6 separate regions of the Homo sapiens genome follow, and regions 2, 3, 4, 5 and 6 are each linked to region 1. The links are contacts of gene promoters, found by promoter capture Hi-C in human tissues and cell types (Jung and others, 2019). All regions are on one chromosome and are shown on one strand. The core of a region is centred on a gene start or on the middle of the fragment in contact, and the rest is flanking DNA. Distances in the headings are between cores, read along the strand shown.

Region 1 (3,049 bases), core at 36-2,535:
GGAAGAGTACGTAAGAGTCACAGCAAAGCCCCGGAGAACAAGGCAACGCAGAAGCCTGGTTTGGAGATGCAGAGGGAGGAGGGACCTTTCCAACTTCAGTAACAAGAAGAAAGAGGAAAAGATAGATAAGGTTGCAGGCAGGTTCATAGATTGGTAGCAGAAAATTGAGAGAATTTCTAACCAATGGCATCTTTTTTTTTCTTCTTTATAACATTGGGAGATTGAGTGGCAGGGTCAGAAATTTGAAGACAGTAAAGAAGGTTAGAAATAGCCATGTTTGACTGGGTGCGGTGGCTCACGCCTGTAATCCCAACACTTTGGGAAGCCAAGGAGGGTGGATCACCTGAGGTCAGAAGTTCGAGACCAGCCTGGCCAACATGGTAAAGCCCCATCTCTACTAAAAATACAAAAATTAGGCGGGCATGGTGGCATGCACCTGTAGTTCCAGCTACTTGGGAGGCTGAGGCAGAAGAATCACTTGAACCCGGGAGGTGGAGGTTGCACTCCAGCCTTTGCAACAGAGCAAGACTTCATCTGAAAGATAGAAAGATGAAAGAAAGAAAGAAAGAAAGAGTAAAAGAAAAAAATTAAAATTTTAGGGGGAAAATTTTCTAATTTTTGAACATGCACTAAAATGATTTTCAGAGAAAACCAAGTGTTATTTTCTAATCTGCATGGCATTATTAAAGATGTTTACTCATCTTCCTTGGGGCTAGGCATCCCATTCCTGCAGGAAGTCTTGTGGTTAGGCGGTGGCTGTGGCTCTGGGATGATTCAGGAATGCAGACCATGCCTTATTTGCACAGGAGGGACACGTTGCTCTCACTGCATGCATGGTCACAACTGTCTGTGTGACCTGTCTGTGGGAGGGCAGACCCCCCTCCTGCCAAGCCACAGTAGCAGCTGACCTGCCAGGCAAAAGCATTCCTTTGTAAAGGAAACCCTCCCAGACCCTCTGACCAAAGGGGACGGGTGGGGACTTCCTGGCACTGCAGGGCCCCTTGCCTGGTACTCCCAGCAACTGGTTGCGGTGGGGAGGGCAGATCTAGGGATGGGGATGGGGAGGAGAAGTGGGAATGGGAAATTGGGAGTCAGAGGGGCAAGTGGGAGAGAAGGGCGCACCTGCCGGGATAACAGGCCAGATGAAGTAAATAGAAAATCCTCTGAGCTCCCCTACTGGCTCCAGCTGTGGAGAAGGGGGAGGAGAAAACCCTGTGGGACAGGGGAGGAGGGTGAGGGCTCCTCTTAGGAAGTTATTTAAGAGCCAACTGTCTTGTCTTTCCCGAGTCCGTTTGAGGAAGTCCCCGAGGCGCACAGAGCAAGCCCACGCGAGGGCACCTCTGGAGGGGAGCGCCTGCAGGTAAGCCACCGACCCTGCACCCTATGAGCCAGGGCCCGCTGCGTCCACCTTCTGCACCTCGGTTTCCTGGTTGAACCAGCAAGCGGCTTGCTCTGGGCCCTGTGGCGCCGGTCACAGGCAGCTCCACTTGCCCAATCCTGGCTTCCCGCCCCCAACTCCGCACCTGCCCAGCCCAGCTTCTAAGCGGGACTTCTCTCAGGCTCTCGAGGCAGCTCTCCCGAAGCCGTTGCTTGCTTAGAATGCCACCAAATGGGGATGGGGGAGTTGGAGGTGCTTCCCCAAGGGACGAGCCCCCTTTCCTCAGGGAGCAGATTATGGAGCTGGAACACAAAAGGTGGAGGGAGTGGGGCCAAGTGAGAACAGCCTGCTAGACTGGAACCCCGCCGGCTTGGCTCCCCACTCCTGCGCGCCTCCCCACTCCTGCGCATCGCCTGCCTCCGTCCCAATTTGGAGCTGAACTCGAGCCACTTCTCCTCCTTAGACCCGCCCAGAAGCGAGGGCTCCTGCCCGCCGCACTCACCCAGCCAGGCGTGCACCTGGGGCTCCCCCCTTCTCCCCCTTAGCACTGTGTCTCCCGACAGCGCGCCACACTGTTCTGCACCCCTGGCAATGCCGCAGCCTACCTTCGGTATTTCTCACTAGAGGATGGCTCTCGCAGCCTTCTCCCTATCATTAACCCTTTTTCGCTCTTCTCCCTCCCTTCCCCCGTCAGCTCACCAATGACTGTAAATATATTTATCTATACTTATGGATACCCATTCACACCTTATGCATCCAAACACTCCTGTCTCCTTCTCAGACCAGACACCTTAGGCGTGGTTGTCTTTTCTCCAGCATGTTGTTAGTGCTCCACATGTCTCTGGAACCATCTCTCTACTCTGGTGGCCTCTATAATGGGGACTCTTCACCTCTTGGGGGTGTGCCTGGTTTTTGAAAATAGCCAAGTCTCCAGGAGTCATGACTGGGTAATCCAGGGGATCAAGGGGGAACCTTCACTGGGCCCAGAAACAAAGTCCCCCTTCATTTGGTCATTTGGTCAACAAGTACTTACTGGGCACTGACCGTCAGGTGTGTGTTGTTTAAACTGGCTCAGTGCCTGCACAAGCTCCAAGGGAAGGGGAAGCAGGCTTGGGGAATGGGAAATGTTGGCAACCCTGACTTCTTAAGCCTATTGATAGCCCTATTGAAAATTGCATGCCCAACCTCTCCACCTCCTTATCCTCCTCCATGTGGCTCAATTTCCAAAGCAGTTCCTACCTCCTCACCCCTAAGTGGATTTACTTATGGCTCTTCTTGGGCTCCACCCTAACCCTATCAGACTATAATCTATCAGAGCAAACATTCTGTTTTGTTCTCTGATGTATCCCATGTACCTAGATCACAGCCTGGCATGTCATAGGCCCTCAATAAATATTGGTTGAATTAAATTGCAAATGTAAACGCTTTAGAAGACAACATTTGTCTGGACATGGTTGTGTGCGTTTATTCTTAAAAGTGACTTATAATCTCATAAATCTGTATGAAATGAACATAGATACAGCACATGCATATAACAGGAAACATTTCTTGCGAAGATGCTGCTGTAGGATTATGGAGGGTGGGGGAATCTGGGTCTCCAAAAATCTTTTAATTTTTAAATTTCTTTGAATAAGCCCCTTTTCTTCTGCTTTCCATATGTTTTGACACATA
Region 2 (3,413 bases), core at 576-3,075, 140 kb after region 1:
GGCAGTTGGGGAAGACCTCGTGGAGGAAGTTAGTGATGGGCTCACTAAGCCCAAAGGACACACAAGAATTGGCAGATGAAGCTGGGGAAAGAGGTCCCCAAGAAAAGGCAGTAAGGCAAGGACTGTGGTGAGAACTCTCGTATTTGGAAGAAGTCCTGACCAGACAGAGTAGTGAAGAAAAGTTGCACCTACAGGCAGCTAGGGGCAGCAGGAAGCGAGCTGTCCACATGACAGATGTCTCTTGGAAACCATGGAGCCGAGCACAGCTGCCATTAGCTGTCAGCATGGAGGTGACAGTGAAGGCCAACTCAGGAATGGGACAGAATCAGATGCCACGAGAGGAAAGACTAAAACCCAGTCCACGAAACAGGAGTCAGGGGCTTGGCTGGGGGTGGATAACAAATTAAAACAAAATGTGTCCGCACTGCATGAGGAAGACATCTGAGGTCCAGGCCTCTAGAGTTTAGCAAGGAGGCAAGGCTGAGGGAGAGGGACAGTGTGGAGGTCTGGTCCAACTAGAAGAATCCCTAAATCCACATAGATGGTTGTAAGCGACGACTCATCCTGCTTCGGGGCTGGAGTTTGACCCCAAGTGGATAGTTTCTTAATCAAGGGTGGCATACACATTTCAAACTGGAACTTTGGAAGTGACCAAGTAGAATGTTGTTTTGAGAAGAACACCAAGACTGCATCTGAATGTGGCGGGTAGAAGGATTGATGGCCGCCATTGGCCACTGGCATGCAGTGAGGACTCGTCATATCCGTGGCTCAGTACTTACCACCCTGATTCTCACCGTTGAATCTCTTATAATTTCTCTGATCCACAAATGCTGAGTGTAGATACCAAAATATGGAAATGAGTAGAATCACAGGAAACAAATTATTACTAGATTTAGGACTTAACTATTTTAATGAATTAAATCATGGAAAGATCAGGTTCACTTCAACTTACTAAAGCTTATTATTAACTTTATAACTTTTTTCAAGATATATAATTAAGAAACGATAAGACTTTGAAAATCAGAATTTCTGAAGACTTCTCCTGTGGCAATATATCTTCTTTGATAACAGTGTCTTGATTCCATTCCCTCTTTGCTCCTTCAGTTACTTCCAGGGTCACTGTTATTTCCACCTCTCCCTCTCTATTTTCTCCTTCCAATCAGCATTTAAGCAGGCTCAAATATCTGCTGTGTTAAAAACAAAAATTACAAAAATCTTTTTCACCACTGTCTCTTCCTCCTCGCCTCCTTGCCGTCCTGGAGCGCTGCCTGGACTTGCGTCCTGCTGTGTTCCTTCTCCACTCCTTCCGCGCACACTCTGTCCTGATTTCTGCTACCAGCACTTCCTTGAAGTTGTTCTCAAGGTTGCCAAGACCACCCAATTGTCACAGGGAAGAAACATTTTGCAGACTTCAGCTTACTTGACCTTCCTATACTTCCTGGTGCTGTTGTTCACTCCCTTTGCTTGCAATTCTGTCTTTTCTTTGTTTCTACAATGTTACTTTCTCCTGGTTCCACCCCCTCCTGCCTGACCCTCTTTTCCTACCTCTTTTTGACTATAAGCTTTTCCCCTTTCTTCACCCTTTTCAAATTCCATTTCATTCTAGGCATCTATCCTTGGGCTCCATTCCCACCCACCTGATGTTCTTCCCACATAGCTGGTGTTAATGTTCACATATGTACCATCACCCCATGTCTGTGTCTCCACCGGGACTTTACCTAAATGTCCTACAGAAACCTGACACGGAACTTCCCAAATGACACCTCTCACTCTCTCCCTCACCTCAGGTCCGTTTCTCCCACTCCCCCTACTCTGGTGAAGAGAACCACCATCCACTCAAATTTAGCTACTTAAGAATGAGTTAAGCAACAAATCCTCTAAATGTCCCCTCTGAAATTGTTCTCGAATGCATCCCCTCCCCTCCAGCTCTGTAGCCTAAAAATTAAATATTATCTGGTGTGTACAACTCTTAATATAGTGCCTGACACATAATAAGTGTCCAATAAAAGTTTCCCCTATTACTAGTAATTCTGTTATTCCTGCCATACTACTGCTATTAGTTTGGGCTATGATTAGTTTTCTCCTGGAAAAATACTTGCTCTAGCTTCCCAATTCCACCTCACCTCCTCAGGCCCTCCTTCCCTCAGTCTAGCCCCTGCCTTGCTGCCAAAGTAATATCTGAAATATAAACCTGAGCCTCTCCCAGCACTGCTTAAAAGCCCCACCCCCCCCCCCCTCTCCCTGTGGCCTCCAGGGCATCCAGTCCTAACTCACAAAGCCTCTTGCTAAGTGGCTTTTCGGCACCTGGTCACTGCACCTCCTGAGCATGCCCCCACAGGTATTGTATGCAGAGGCCAGGGACCTGCCAGCAGTTCCTCCAACAAGCCAAGCCCCCCACCTGCATCCCTGGTCTTGCCCTCGCTCCAAAAACTCCGAGAGGCCTCCCATGCCCCTTCCTTTCCCCATGCACTGCAGGCCAACCTCCGTCCCAGCATCTGTGGTGAGCACCTGTGTGCTGCCATTGCTCTTCACGTGTTCCTTCTGCACCAGTGAGGGAAAGACTGTTTCTCCTCTGTGCCTAGTGCCTAGCACGGTGTTTGGAACATTATGGGGTTTCCAACAGCATGAGATGATTTGAATGAATGGTTACTGGGGAGGCACTTTCACAGCTAGGCTTAGTTGAACATAAAATGTCCTAAACTGGACTATTATGAAGAGGAAAGTTTTGTCTCTGGCTGAAAGCAAAATGCTTCTCCAAACCTCAATCCTTCAGATCCTCTGTGCCAGGCTGGGTTTCAGGGCCTGGGGATGCAGAGGTGGACAACATGTCTCTGTTCTCATGGAGCTTGCATTCCAGCAAGGAAGATAATGTCACACAGTAACTAGTACTGTGACAAGGAAGAGGAAATAAAACCAGGTATGTGTTAGGGAGAGCCGAGAACACTAGGGTTTGAGGACACATTACACAAGGTAAGAGGGGGAGGACAGGGGAGGTGACAGTGGAGCTAAAGCCAGAAGAATGAGAGGCTTCGTCCAACATAAAAGGGCTCTCTTATTACATCCTAGTTAATGGAAAGATATTTTTGACTTTGCACCCAGAGGCTGCAGAAGAATCTCAGAAAATATAATCTGGCTTTGGATATGTCTCTCACTGCACTAAAATGTTGCCTGTGGCCCTGAATTATGTAAGATGCCAGAGCACGCAGCATAACTGTAGAGAAACAGGAATTACTCTGCCAGGCTCTGGGAAAGCCGTGCAGTTGTTTTCTCCTCTCTGGGCCTGCGCTTCCTGGAACAGCCCCAGCCTGCTTCTGTTTGGCGGTCTCCGCTCACAGAGGACAGTGCTTCCCCAGAAGGAAGCTCCAGGTTCCTGCACCCATGGCAGGCTGTGAAGTTGCTTGTGGCTGGCTTCA
Region 3 (3,262 bases), core at 39-2,538, 210 kb before region 1:
TATATGTTAACCCTGTTTGTGATATTCTACATTGAACGGAAATCTTCAGTTTTGTTGTAGTCAATTTTTTTTTCACCTTGTGTTTTTAGAGTGTTATTTGAAAACTCTTTCCGTACATCCTAATGTCACAATATTAAAAAAAAATTTTATACTTATTTCATAGTTTCAATTTTCATATCTGGGTTTTTAATCAATTTAGAATTGAATTTTTATATGCCATGAGGTAGATATTTGTCTTTATGTTGTGAAGTTTTCCTAACATCAGCTACTAAAAAGTTTCATCCTTTCCTCACTCATTTATAATGCCATCTCTGCTACAGAACAAATTCACACATTTACTTGGGTTTGTTTCTGGGCTTCCTGTTCTGTTCCATTGATCTCTGTCTTAGGCAATGCCAAGACCATATTTTTTTTCTTTTTAATTACTTAATCTTTGTTGTTTCTTAGTGTCTGGATAAGCAAGTTTCCTTGCTTTGTTCTTCCAGATAGCTTTCTAAATGAATTTGTCAAGTTCATACAAGATTCTGCCAGAATTTTGATTGGAATTGCATTTAATTTATAGATCGATTTGAGGACAACTATTTTGTTGAAAGTGCATAAAGAGTGATAAGTTTTTGAAGTTAACAAATTGGAATAAACTTCTTTGGGATGATTTAGATACTCTTTCTTAACTGTTTACAATAAGCCTGGGGTCTCTTAACATATTCAATTGGTATTATTACAATAGGAGAAAATATATGTCAGGAAATGTGTGTATGTGGGAATTTGGTGAGTTGTAGGTAGCAATCATTCTTTTACCATAACACCCACCCTTTTTTCCTTAAGGTTCTTGATTATAAGCACTAGTGCTTGTTCTATTCAGTGATTCATTTAGTTAGTCAAGGGCTAATACCACTTCTAGCTTTGTATTTAACATTCCATGGAGCTATCTATATCTCTTCAAATTTGCCCAGTGTTTCATTTGTTCTGGATAGGTTACCTAATTATCACCCAATGTTAATGAGACCAAGCTCATTAGAATGGTCTGTTTTAGAGTCTTTTACTTTCCTTCTCACCCTGGCTAGCTGTCCTGCAAAGGTATGCTTTTGAGGACAAGGAAAGCCCAGAGAGAGTGTACTTGAAAAAATTCAAACCCTTCACTACTCCTGGAAAATACCCTAGTCATGCACTTGCTAATAGACTAATTTTCATATATAAAGGACAGGACCCGATCATTATTTGTAGCTCATTTAGGGTAGTTAATGAGGAGTAGCCTAATTAAGAGGCTGGAAAAAGTATAGCACAAAGGTGGTCTTGAATTGGCTTTACTCATCTTTGTCCGGAACGTCTGCTCATCTTTTTTTAACCTACGAAAAGGGAGTATGAAGGGATGACCCATTTGAATATTTAGCAACATGTTAAATCCAGTTCAGATTCCATATTGTAGGTTTAAAAAAACCCACTGTTTAAAGAGTGCATTTCTAACATATAATTCACTGAGAGGATAAACATGCCTTTCAATGTTCTATTTAAGATAAAAACTGTATTAAATGAGCCCAGAATTGTTAAACTTAGCTCTGTAAATGTTCAGCAATTTTATATTTTTCCTTTGCTTTGTCTGCATATCTCCTTTTTCTTTCAAACCTTGGTTGGGTTCTTTTTAAAGTCACTGTCTTTTAAATCATGTAATTTTGAGTAACAAGACAGCTAGGTGACATATTGCAATATTGAAATTGTTGAGTCAGGTCTTCTTCATAATTTCACAACTGTTAAAATTCCCACATTGGAAAATATGACTAATTCCCTCTAATTCTCAAAAGTCTTCTCCAGAGAAAAATCACATTTTGTGCTACTCAAATGCCATAGAAACAGCTCCCTCATGGCTCCTCAGCTCAGTGTGGGGCTAACCTCACGGTAGGTTGGTGCTTGTAAGCAATTGTTTGGATGCATTGAAAGCTCTCCTCGTAAGTGTGCCTGAGAGACGAACAGGGCAAAAACCACTGTACAGACCCGAGGTGGACATTTTTAGAAAGAAATGCTTTGTGTACAGTTCAAACTGGTGGGTTCATGCTTTTTAAAGTGCTTTTTAAATTCCCCCTAGAAGTTGTCCAAGTTCCTCCTGCATTCTCCAAATTGCTGAGAGACGGTAGAGACCTCAGAGATTTTTGGATACGTGTGTGGTCACTACATTTCTTTTGGCAAAATAACTGGAGCCATAGGCCCAGCTGAAATTGCTGTTCTACTTGCTTGTAGGTATTTACAGACGCTGGTATTTCTGAGAGCTGAAGACATGTCTTCCTCAATTGTCTAATGCGATCCTCACAACCACCCAATGAAGCAGGCGTTAGTACCTTCCCTGTTTTACAGATGATGGGTGCTGGACCGTTAACCTTATTTTGTATATGGGAAAACTGAATCTCTCAGATTTCATTCTTTGCTCCTTATAGCAGATAATGTCTGTGCATTGCCCAATCATTGCTACTTTCCTTTGTGCCATTCTTGTGTGCCTGTTGGCTTGAGGGGGCTTTCTTCTTCCACAATCTCAGGGTGCTCGAGCCTCCCTGGCATGCACAACCTGAGAGCTGGAAGTGCCAGGGGAATTTACATCTGCTTGGGGTGAGCTTATCCAATGGCTGTTGGCTACAGGGGTCTGAAAGCCTCAGCTCCCTTGCATGGCAGAACAGGCCTTACACTCCTGAGCTCCCTGCAGCCTAACTCTCTGCAAGACTTTGCCTGAGTGAGTTCACCTTCTTGCTTGGCCTCTTCCCTTCCCAGCCCTGCTCCCCGCTCTTACTGGCTTCCTCTAAGAGCATGTTCAAAAAGTCATTTGCACAGGAATCCTCCTCACAGGATCTGCTTCTGGAGAGCCCAACCTAAGATGCTCCTCTTTCCTATGGTTTTATGGGACAGGATGTTCTTGGAGCGTGTTCTTGTGAGATTTAGGTTAATACATTCAAACTTGCAGAAGGTGTGAGTCTTGGAAATTTTAAAAAAGAAAGAAAACTAAATCTAAACCTTTACATGCCTTTTTTCCCCCCATCGTGCATCTCACCTGGGGATACTTGAAGATTTTGTTTAACTTTCCATTTACTCATTCCAGGAGATAGTCATGTACTACATGGTTTTCAATTGCATTGTTGAAGGAAGAAAAGCTGGATATTTTTATTTTTAAGGCATCCTCTTTCTTCGATTCCGTCAACTTGTTCTCACTACTGACTCTACCCCCAAACCATTCTCTATCCTTCCAGTTTATCTGATAGTTCTTTCTGAAGTAAGGAGTCCA
Region 4 (3,392 bases), core at 171-2,670, 250 kb after region 1:
TCACAATAAAATAGACCATTTTATGCAAATGTAGACGCTGCCAAAATTGCTTGTGAAGAAGTTGCAGCTTGATGCAGTGGTCATGCTTGCTATCCCAGCACTTTGGAAGGCTGAGGCAGGCAGATCACGAGGTCAGGAGATTGAGACCATCCTGGCTAACATGGTGAAACCCTGTCTCTAGTAAAAATACAAAAAAGTATCCAGGAGTGGTGTCACATGCCTGTAGTCCCAGCTACACTGGAGGCTGGGGCAGAATTGTTTGAACCCAGGAGCAGAGGTTGAAGTGAGCTGAGACTCCAGCCTGAGTGACAGAGTGAGAATACATCTCAGAAGAAGAAGGAGGAGGAGGAGGAGGAGGAGGACGAGGAGGAGAAGAACTAGTTGTTGCAACTGGCATGGATTAGTAACTTTGGAAAAATAGGAGAAAGAGAAGTATCTACCCCAAAGCCTCCAGGTTTGAAATGTTTTACAAATAAGTTACTCAGACTTTTAGAAAATAAAATTCCCAACCTATATAAACAGTTTTGAAACTCAGAAAAGGAAGGAGGAAGTCGCTTCCAAGATGGCCAAATAGGAACACCTCCGGTCTACAGCTCCCAGCGAGATCAATGCAGAAGACGGGAGATTTCTGCATTTCCAACTGAGGTAACTCGTTCATCTCATTGGGACTGGTTGGACAATGGTTGCAGCCCACAGAGGGTGAGCTGAAGTAGGGTGGGGCATCTCCTCACCCAGGAAGTGCAAGGGGTCGGGGGATTTACTTTTCCTAGCCAAGGAAAGCCATGAATGACTGTACCTGGAGGAACAGTACACTTCTGCCAAAATACTGTGCTTTTCCTACAGTCTTCACAACCAGCAGACCAGGAGATTCCCTCCTGTGCCTGGCTCAGCAGGTCCCACACCAACAGAGCCTTGCTCACTGCTAGTGCAGCAGTCTGAGATCACCCTGGGATGCTGGAGCTTGGCAGGGAGAGGGGCGTCTGCCATTGCTGAGGTGGGAGTAGGCGGTTCTAAGCTCACAGTGTAAACAAAGTGGCAGGGAAGCTCGAACTGGGTGGAGCCCACCACAGCTCAGCAAGGCCTACTGCCTCTCTAGATTCCAACTCTGGGGGCAGGGCATATCTGAACAAATGGCAGCAGACAGCTTCTTCAGACTTAAATATCCCTGCCTGACAGCTCTGAAGAGAGCAGTGGTTCTCCCAGCACAGTGTTCAAGCTCTGAAAACAGACAGACTGCCTCCTCAAGTGGGTCCCTGACCCCCGTGTACCCTGATTGGGAGACACTTCCCAGTAGGGGCCAACAGACACCTCATACAGGCTGGTGCCCCTCTGGGATGAAGCTTACAGAGGAAGGATCAGGCAGCAATATTTGCTGTTCTGCTGCCTCCGCTAGTGATACCCAGACAAACAGTGTCTGGAGTGGACCTCCAGCAAACTCCAACAGATCTGTAGCTGAGGTGCCTGCCTGTTAGAAGGAGAACTAACAAACAGAAAGGAATATCATCAACATCAACAAACAGGATAGCCACACCAAAACCCCATCCATAGGCCACCAACATCAAAGGCCAAAGGTAGACAAAACCACAAAGTTGGGAAGAAACCAGAGCAGAAAGGCTGAAAATTCCAAAAACCAGAATGTTTCTTCTCCTCCAAAGGAATGCAACCCCTCGTCAGCAATTGAACAAAACTGGAGGGAGAATGAGTTTGATGAATTGACAGAAGTAGGCTTCAGAAGTTGGGTAATAACAAACTTCTCTGAGCTAAAGGAGCATGTTCTAACCCATCACAAGGAAGCTAAAAACCTTGAAAAAAGGTTAGATGAATGGATAACTAGAATAACCAGTGTAGAGATGAGCTTAAAACACTTGATAGAGCTGAAAACCACAGTTCGAAAACTTCATGAAGCATACACAAGCTTCAATAGCAGATTAGATCAAGCAGAAGAAAGGATATCAGTGATTGAAGATCAAATTAATAAAATAAAGTGAGAAGACAAGATTAGAGAAAAAAGGGTGAAAATAAATGAACAAAGCTTCCAAGAAATATGGGACTATGTGAAAAGACCAAATCTACATTTTGATTGGTGTACCTGAAAGTGACGGGGAGAATGGAACCAAGTTAGAAAAAACTCTTCAGGATATTATCCAGGAGAACTTCCCCAACCTAGCAAGACAGGCCAAAATTCAAATTCAGGAAATACAAAGAACACCACAAAGATACTCCTCAAGAAGAGCAACTCCAAGACACATAACTGTCAGATTCACCAAGGTTGAAATGAAGGAAAATATGTTAAGGGCAGACAGAAAAGTCCGGTTACCCACGAAAAGAAGCCCATCAGAGTAACAGCAGATCTCTCTGCAGAAACCCTACAAGTCAGAAGAGAGTGGGGGCCAATATTCCACATTATTAAAGAAAAGAATTTTCAGCCGAGAATTTCATATCCAGCCAAACTAAGCTTCATAAGTGAAGGAGAAATAAAATCCTTTACAGGCAAGCAAATGCTGAGAGATTTAGTCACCACCAGGCCTGCCTTACAAGAGCTCCTGAACAAAGCACTAAACATGGAAAGGAATAACTGGTACCAGCCATTGCAAAAACATACCAAATTGTGGAGACCATTGACACTATGAAGAAACTGCATCAATTAATGGGCAAAATAACTAGCTAGCATCACAAATGACAGGATCAAATTCACACATAACAATATTAACCTTAAATGTAAATGGGCTAAATGCCCTAATTAAATGACACAGGCAAATTGGATAAAGAGTCAAGACCCATCAGGGTGCTGTATACAGGAGACCCATCTCATGTGCAAAGACACACATAGTCTCAAAATAAAGGGATGGAGAAAGAACTACCAAGCAAATGGAAAGCAAAAAAAGGCAGGGGTTGCAATCCTGGTCTCTAATAAAACAGACTTTAAACCAACAAAGATCAAAAGAGACAAAGAAGGCCATTACATAATGGTAAAGGGATCAATTCAACAAGAAGAGCTAACTATCCTAAATATATATGCATCCAATACAGGAGCACCCAGATTTATACAGCAAGTTCTTAGAGACCTACAAAGAGACTTAGACTCCCACACAATAATAATGGGAAGCTTTAACACCCCACAGTCAATATTAGACAGATCAATGAGACAGAAAATTAACAAGGATATTCAGGACTTGAACTCAGCTCTGGACCAAGTGGACCTAATAGACATTTACAGAACTCTCCACCCCAAATCAACAGAATATACATTCTTCTCAGCATCACGTCACACTTATTCTAAAATTGACCACATTATTGGAAGTAAAACACTCCTCAGCAAGTGTAAAAGAATAGAAATCAAATCAAACTGTCTCTCAGACCACGGTGCAATCAAATTAGAACTGAATATTAAG
Region 5 (3,440 bases), core at 169-2,668, 230 kb after region 1:
AATTAAAGAATAGGCAAAACTAATCTATGTTGGTATAAATCAGAAAAATTGTTGCCTCCTTGTGAGTATGGGCAAAGGCAAGGATTGACTTTGAAGGGGAAAAAGGATTTTCTCGGATAAGGAAATACTCTATTTAAAAAGTTTATTTCAATAGTTCTTGGGGTAACATTCCATATCTTGATGGATGTGTGAGCTACACAGACAGAAGTTTCTCCAGTATGAGGTAGTTTACTCACAGGCAAGCAGGAGTCAATTCTTGGATGAATAATCAATAATAGGACAAGGTTGCATGGCTGGTTTGACCATTTTGTGAACTAACATGCCAAAAACAAACAAATAGGCCCCCTAATTTGTATTGCACATATTCTATACAAGGTAGAAGGTGAGAATGAAAATAACAAATGAACAAGATGTTCCATAAGGATAGACAAAGTCTGGTACTAATCCAGTATTTCCCCCTTATCCAAATGTGATGGACTGAAAGAATCCAGGATCAAAATCAAGCTTCATCTCCTAACAGACCCTGATCATGTACCAGATGGGAATATTTAAAATATACCCAGAAAAGCAACCTCTCAATGACAGCGAATTTTAGCACAGGAAGGCTGATGCTGACGTTCCTATACTTTCATTTTCTGTGATTCGATGAGCTACTTTGACATTACTCCTGGTTAATGACAGTTATCAAGATGCTTTGATTCTCTTTCTCACTCTGGATCATTTTACTTTCCATCAGTGACTTGCAATTCTATCAGTGACAAATCAATTTTCTTCACAAACTATCAAGGTCAACTTTCACAAACACTGTAGTCACAGCCACAAAACATCTGTTAAGACAGATCACAGTTGAGGGAGCAATTAATTTATTCCCATCTCATGGCTTGACTGGCCCCCAGTGGGGTGATGTGATGCATCTGCTCATTCAACACATTGCATCATTACCTCCTCTGTGCCGGAGCACAAGCCACAGGGCAGTGATCAAAGCAGACAAAATATCTGCCCTCATGGTGCATAGATTCTGGTTGAGGGAGACAGGTAATAAACAATTTAGTTAAATAACAGTGTGGTAGGTATTGTAATTTTAGATGAACTAGGCAAGGAAGGCCTCAGAAAAGAGTTGACAACTGAGAAAATACCTGAAGAAAAAGAGGATGTGAGCCACGTACATCTCTTGGGTAAACGTTTCCCAAACTGAGGAATAACAAGAGCAACGTTTGGAGGCAGAAAAGTATCTGTCACATTCAAAGAACAGCAAGGAAACCAGGTGGCTGGAGCAGAGGTGAATAAGTGCGAAGTTCTGGAAGCTGAGGTCAAAAAGGTAAGTGCAGATTTTATCACATAGGGCTTTAGAGCCATTCCAGGTGCCTTGCTTTTACTCTGAAGTGGGAAACTACCAGAGGCTTTTGGGTATAGGAGTCGTGTGACCTGACTTTGATTTTAACAGAATCACTCCAGCTGCTCTGTTGACTATGACCAAAGGAGGACAAGGGCAGACATAGGAAGGCCAGTGAAGGTTGCATTAAATGCAATGAAGTTTGACTAGATATTTATCTGCCCCAGCCTCTGGTCCTTAAGTTTATACATCTAAGCTAAGATACTGTTAGCGGAAAAGAAGGAGCAAAGCAACGTGCAACAAATCTATGTCATTTTTTGGCAACAAGTCATAAAAATTTTTGAGGGGTAAAGAGAGAAAATATTAAGAAGTGTTCTCCTTCACCTTTCTTTCTCTCTCTTTCTAGCCAAGCTTTCCATGCTCACCTAAACTGGTGGCATTTTTGTCTTTGATGTGACTGATTTTGAGGTGAAGGAATGAATCTATGACTTGGTGGTACTCCTGCTGGCCTTCTATCGATCCGTGAATTAAAAAGGAAAGAAAAATTTCCTAAGAAGGACCAAAGGGAGTTAGGAAAGGTGGTTTATAAAGTGGGAGAGATAATCCTAGACGGATGTACAAGGGCGAAAGAAAATCCTATGACTTGATCTTGTTAGGAAGCTGACCTAGAAAGACTGGGCTTTGTAAGAAGCCTTGATCAAGAGTTACAAGAAAGGGAACATATAAAAATGCTGGAAAGGTTTTCAACCTCAACATTATCACTGGGAGGGATCCCTCATAGTTGGATCTTGAATTTTGGGGAATTAAAGCACAGAGGGTACCATCCTAATTCCACCCCTGTGAACTTACTGAACAGCTTGTGAACTTACTGAACAGCATAAGCAGTTCATTTTTCAAACAGAGAGCTTTACTCACACAGGAGAATTTCCTGCAACTAGAAAATAGTTCCGATAACTGTCTCTCTTTTATTAGCTATGGAGGACATGTCCATCACTGCTGGTGCATGAGGTAGGGCATGGGCACTGACAGCAGTTCAAAAATCTATCGTAAGTGGATTATAGGGGTTGGCCAGAAATATAAAGTAGCATTAAGTGTGTTAGATACTGGCATGAGGCTGTGAAGAAGATGCAGAAAACACTCTCCTCTACATTCATTGTTTCACTCAGCATAATCAGGGTTGAGGGAGAACACTCAAACTGAAAGTAGTGAGGTTTCTCTTTTCCTGGATTCCATTCAATGTAGGGGTCATTTTCAGTGGTCCCAAGAGCTAAATTGGGCAAAGTGGATTTCTACCATCTGAGCTCCTCACTCACACTGGGACAGTCATTTTGCACTATGAACATTACACACTGTTGGTAATTGTTTGGGGCATTTTCCAGGTGTAGAACAAAAGCCCTTTGGCTCACAAAATGGCTCCAAATGTTGCCATCGACTCTCCAAATATTTCCAGTACTTCAAATCCAAAATCATTACTATTGATTTTGAAAGGCATTGATTACAATTTCTTCAGAACTCTATGTTTGTTTCTTTGGAAAAAGCATTGTTTCATGGCAAAAGAAGAAAAACTGATACATATTTTAGGTGCTTTCACTTGATGAGTCACCTTCTCTCCATTTTTCAAAGTATTCATTGGTCTGTTTGAGGGCAAGAAATGACCTAAATACCCTAATGCAGCAAGGACCGGCAGTTTCTATCCAGCCATGGCCCCTCGAAAAGTGACTATTCACCCCCCTTTAGTGGGGGTGAGTTCCTATGATTTTTTCTTGCCTTGGTATCTATTTTGAATATAGGTTTAAGTTTCTTATACCAGAAGACTTTAGTTACCATTGAAAGAGTTTCCAGTTCTCCACCTCCTCCAGTTCCTCAGGATGGTCAATCCAAATATCTGCCCTAAACAACCACCTCCTGGTGACCACCTGCCTATGGGTCAGCTCACTATACAGCTCGCTTGACTCACCCCCACTCACCCATACACCCCACATAGACTGTGCAGAAATGCTGTGGTGACCACCTCTTAGTCACAGCGTGACTCCATAGAACTCATGCCTCCTGGTTGTAAACCCACCAACTAGAACTCCCCATAGGGAATCCGCCTGGGTAGCAACCT
Region 6 (3,518 bases), core at 459-2,958, 200 kb after region 1:
ACGGACTCTGCACTCTGTAGTGGCAGGCCCACAGCACAGCCATCTCTTCCCACAGTTGAGCATTCCGGCAGCATGGGTGATAGCTGACATTGACTATCACAGCTGGCAACTGAATGCACTATGAGGGAATCTAAGGACAAGTCTGCTGCCCCAGTCCCCTTCCTCCAATATTTGATGACCCGATCCGGGATCCTGGGAATCACCCAGTCCAGTCCACCAATGGATGTCCATCAATGGATGATTGGATAAAGAAAATGTGGCATATATACAGAATGAAATACTATTTGACAATAAAAACAAACAAAATTATGACATTTTCAGCAATATGGATGGAACTGATGGTATTTACCTTATATAAAATAAGCTAAGCCTAAAAAGACAAATATTGCATGTTCTCATTTATATGTGGGAGCTAAAAATACTTGATCACATGGAGATAGAGAGTGAAAAGATAGATAACAGAAACTGGTAAAGGTGAGGGGAGCTGGAAGGAGGCTAAAAAGAAGTGGGTTAAAGGGTACAAACATATAGTTAAACAGCAGGAATACATTCAATGTTTGATAGCTGAGTAAGGTGACAATAGTTAACAAAAATGTATTGTACTTAGATAATAAACACCCTAAATACCCTGACTTGATCACTACACATTATATACATGTAACAAAATTTCACATGTATGCTATAAATTTGCACAAACAAAAAAAAGGGGGGAGGGAAAGAAACACTTTACAAAATAGCTGTTTTGTAACCTTCAAAATTGTCAAGGTCATGAAAGCCAAGGAGAGACTGGGTAATTGTTTGAGGTTGAAGGACTCTGAAGACATGATTATTTTGCCATAAAGAGCATTGTTGGGACCATTGTTGAAATGCGAACAGGGCCTTAGGATTCGATGTTAATGACATTAATAAATAAATTAATATGGAGGATTAGTTTTCTGATGTTGATGATTCTGTTATAGGTATGTAGATGAATGCCACTGTTCAGTGAAAATATACTCTAAAGTTTTCAGAAAGTGATGGGGTATCGTGTCAGCAACTTACATTGAAATGGTTAAGCATGAAAGGTTTTTGTATGCATACTTTCAACTTTTCTTTAAGTTTGAAATGATGTCAAAATAAAAAGGCAAATGTCAAAGCTCGTTAATGTTATTGCAAGGGAAAGTACACCCTGTAATAGTCAATATCAGAAAATTTTTTTTTAAAGGCCGGGTGCAGTGGTTCATACATGTAATCCCAGCACTTTGGGAGGCTGAGGTGGGCAGATCACAAGGTCAAGAGATCGAGACCATCCTGGCCAACATGGTGAAACCCCATCTCTACTAAAAATACAAAAAATTAGCTGGGCATGGTGGCATATGCCTGGGTCCCAGCTAATCGGTGGCTGAGGCAGGAGAATCACTTAAAACCCAGGAGGCGGAGGTTGCAGTGAGCCAAGATGGCACCACTGCACTCCAGCCTGGCCACAGAAAGAGACTCCATCTCAAGACAAAACAAAACAAACAAAACAGGATAGTAAAAAAGATGGATGATGGAAATGACAACAGAAAAAAATAAAGAAGATTATGAGAACCTGTACACTCCCAGCCAGGAAGCAACAATTTTAAAAATTAAGATAAATAAAAATCAGGAAAAAATATGAAAGTTTCATTAATAATTTACACAATTTTATAGTCAACAGAACATGCACAAAAGTCAGGAGTAGCTTCGTTTGATGAATTTGTTGATTTCTATTTGTACTGTGATCTTTCCTTATGAAATATATAAGAAATAATTTTCTTCAACTTTCTTTAGTAAAAGACAGTTTGGTTTTTAAAATTATGACCCCAAACATGTTTACAAAGAATCAATTATCACAGTCAATGAATTATTAAAAGTTCTCTCTCAGATACATATTTTAATGATAAAAGTTAAATTTTCAAACTATTATGAAATCTTGATTAGCCTACTACAAAACCCCAAGACACATAATCATCAGATTCTCCAAGGTCAAATGAAGGTAAAAATGTTAAGGGCAGCCAGACAGAAAGGTCAGATCACCTACAAAGGGAAGCCCACCACACTAACAGCAGACCTCTCAGCAGAAACCCTATAAACCAGAAGACAGTGGGAGCCAACATTCAACATTCTTAAAGAAAATAATTTGCAACCCAGAATTTCATATTCAGCCACATTAAGCTTCATAAGTGAAGGAGATATAAAATCCTTCCCAGACAAGCAAATGCTAAGGGATTTTATCACCACCAGGCCTGCTTAGCAAGAGCTCCTGAAGAAAGCATGAAATATGGAAAGGAAAAACCAGTACCAGCCACTGCAAAAACACACCAAACTATAAAGACCAATGGCACTATGAAGAAACAGCTTCAACTAGTGTGCAAAATAACCAGCTAGCATCATGATGACAGGGTCATATTCACACATAAAAATATTAACCTTAAATGTAAATGGGCTAAATGCCTTAAATTAAAAGACACATATTGGCAAACTGAATAGAGTCAAGACCTATCAGTGTGCTGTGTTCAGGAGACCCATCTCACATGCAAAGACACACATAGACTCAAAATAAATGGATGGAGAAATATTTACCAAGCAAATGGAAGACAAAAAAAGAGCAGGGGTTGCAATCCTAGCATCTGATAAAACAGACTTTAAACCAACAAAAATAAAAAAAAGACAAAGAAGGGCATTAAATAATGGTAAAAGGATCAATGCAACAAGAAGAGTTAGCTATCCTATATATATATGCACTCAATACAGGAGCATGCAGATGCCTAAGACAAGTTCTTAGGGACCTATACAGAGACTTAGACTTCCACACAATAATAGTGGGAGACTTTAACACCCCATTGTCAATATTAGACAGATCAACAAGACAGAAAATTAACAAAGATATTTACAACTTGAACTCGGCTATGGATCAAACGGACATAATAGACATCTACAGAACTTTTCGTCCCAATTCAACAGAATATACATTTTTCTCAGGGCCACATGGCACTTATTCTAAAATCAGACACATAACTGGAAGTAAAACACTCCTCAGCAAATGCAAAAGAACTAAAATCATAACAAACAGTCTCTCAGACCACAGTGCAATCAAATTAGAACTCAGGATTAAGAAACTCACTCAAAACCACACAACTACATGGAAATTGAACAACCTGCTTATGAATGACTCCTAGGTAAATAAAAAAATTGAGGCAGAAATCAAGAAGTTCTTTGAAACCAATGAGAACAAAGAGACAACATAGCAGAATTTCTGGGACACAGGTAAAGCAGTGTTAAGAGGGAAATTTATAGTACTAAATGCCCACAAGAAAAAGCAGGAAAGATCTCAAACTGACACCCTAACATCATAATTTAAAAAACTAGAGAAGCAAGAGCAAACAAATTTAAAAGCTAGCAGAAGACAAGAAATAACTAAGATCAGAGCAGAACTGAAAGAAACAGACACACACACACACACACAAACCCTTCAAAAAATTAATGAATCCAGGAGCTGATTTTGTGAAAAAATTAGC

The links. The method cuts DNA at HindIII sites, captures the fragments that hold promoters and counts their contacts. A contact is called where the count stands out against the background at its distance.
Region 2: a contact is called between a fragment that was not itself captured here and the fragment with the promoter of F13A1 in region 1, in 4 of the 25 tissues and cell types used here (H1 embryonic stem cells, dorsolateral prefrontal cortex, mesendoderm cells and 1 more).
Region 3: a fragment that was not itself captured here is called in contact with the fragment with the promoter of F13A1 in region 1 in 1 of the 25 tissues and cell types used here (mesendoderm cells).
Region 4: a contact is called between a fragment that was not itself captured here and the fragment with the promoter of F13A1 in region 1, in 2 of the 25 tissues and cell types used here (H1 embryonic stem cells and spleen).
Region 5: a fragment that was not itself captured here is called in contact with the fragment with the promoter of F13A1 in region 1 in 5 of the 25 tissues and cell types used here (bladder, dorsolateral prefrontal cortex, liver and 2 more).
Region 6: a fragment that was not itself captured here is called in contact with the fragment with the promoter of F13A1 in region 1 in 2 of the 25 tissues and cell types used here (H1 embryonic stem cells and hippocampus).

What each region holds. Positions count from the first base shown.
Region 1 is chr6:6,318,898-6,321,946 of GRCh38, reverse strand. F13A1 (coagulation factor XIII A chain) reads left to right here and starts at 1,285. Exons shown (of 15, transcript NM_000129.4): 1 at 1,285-1,360. The region is part of intron 1 of LOC124901253 (a long non-coding RNA gene); the gene reads right to left. The HindIII fragment of the contact is 8,313 bases long and covers 1-3,049 here.
Region 2 is chr6:6,176,868-6,180,280 of GRCh38, reverse strand. All of the region lies in intron 11 of F13A1 (coagulation factor XIII A chain), which reads left to right. Among named protein-coding and RNA genes, the nearest start is that of MIR7853, 9.1 kb to the right of the region's middle. RefSeq lists an enhancer at 1,900-2,399. The HindIII fragment of the contact is 3,214 bases long and covers 219-3,413 here.
Region 3 is chr6:6,524,616-6,527,877 of GRCh38, reverse strand. The region is part of intron 3 of LY86-AS1 (LY86 antisense RNA 1); the gene reads left to right. Among named protein-coding and RNA genes, the nearest start is that of LY86, 62 kb to the left of the region's middle. The HindIII fragment of the contact is 6,608 bases long and covers 1-3,262 here.
Region 4 is chr6:6,070,041-6,073,432 of GRCh38, reverse strand. No RefSeq gene overlaps it. Among named protein-coding and RNA genes, the nearest start is that of NRN1, 65 kb to the right of the region's middle. The HindIII fragment of the contact is 4,133 bases long and covers 1-3,392 here.
Region 5 is chr6:6,090,939-6,094,378 of GRCh38, reverse strand. No RefSeq gene overlaps it. Among named protein-coding and RNA genes, the nearest start is that of MIR5683, 77 kb to the left of the region's middle. The HindIII fragment of the contact is 3,167 bases long and covers 1-3,001 here.
Region 6 is chr6:6,117,131-6,120,648 of GRCh38, reverse strand. No RefSeq gene overlaps it. Among named protein-coding and RNA genes, the nearest start is that of MIR5683, 50 kb to the left of the region's middle. The HindIII fragment of the contact is 3,395 bases long and covers 11-3,405 here.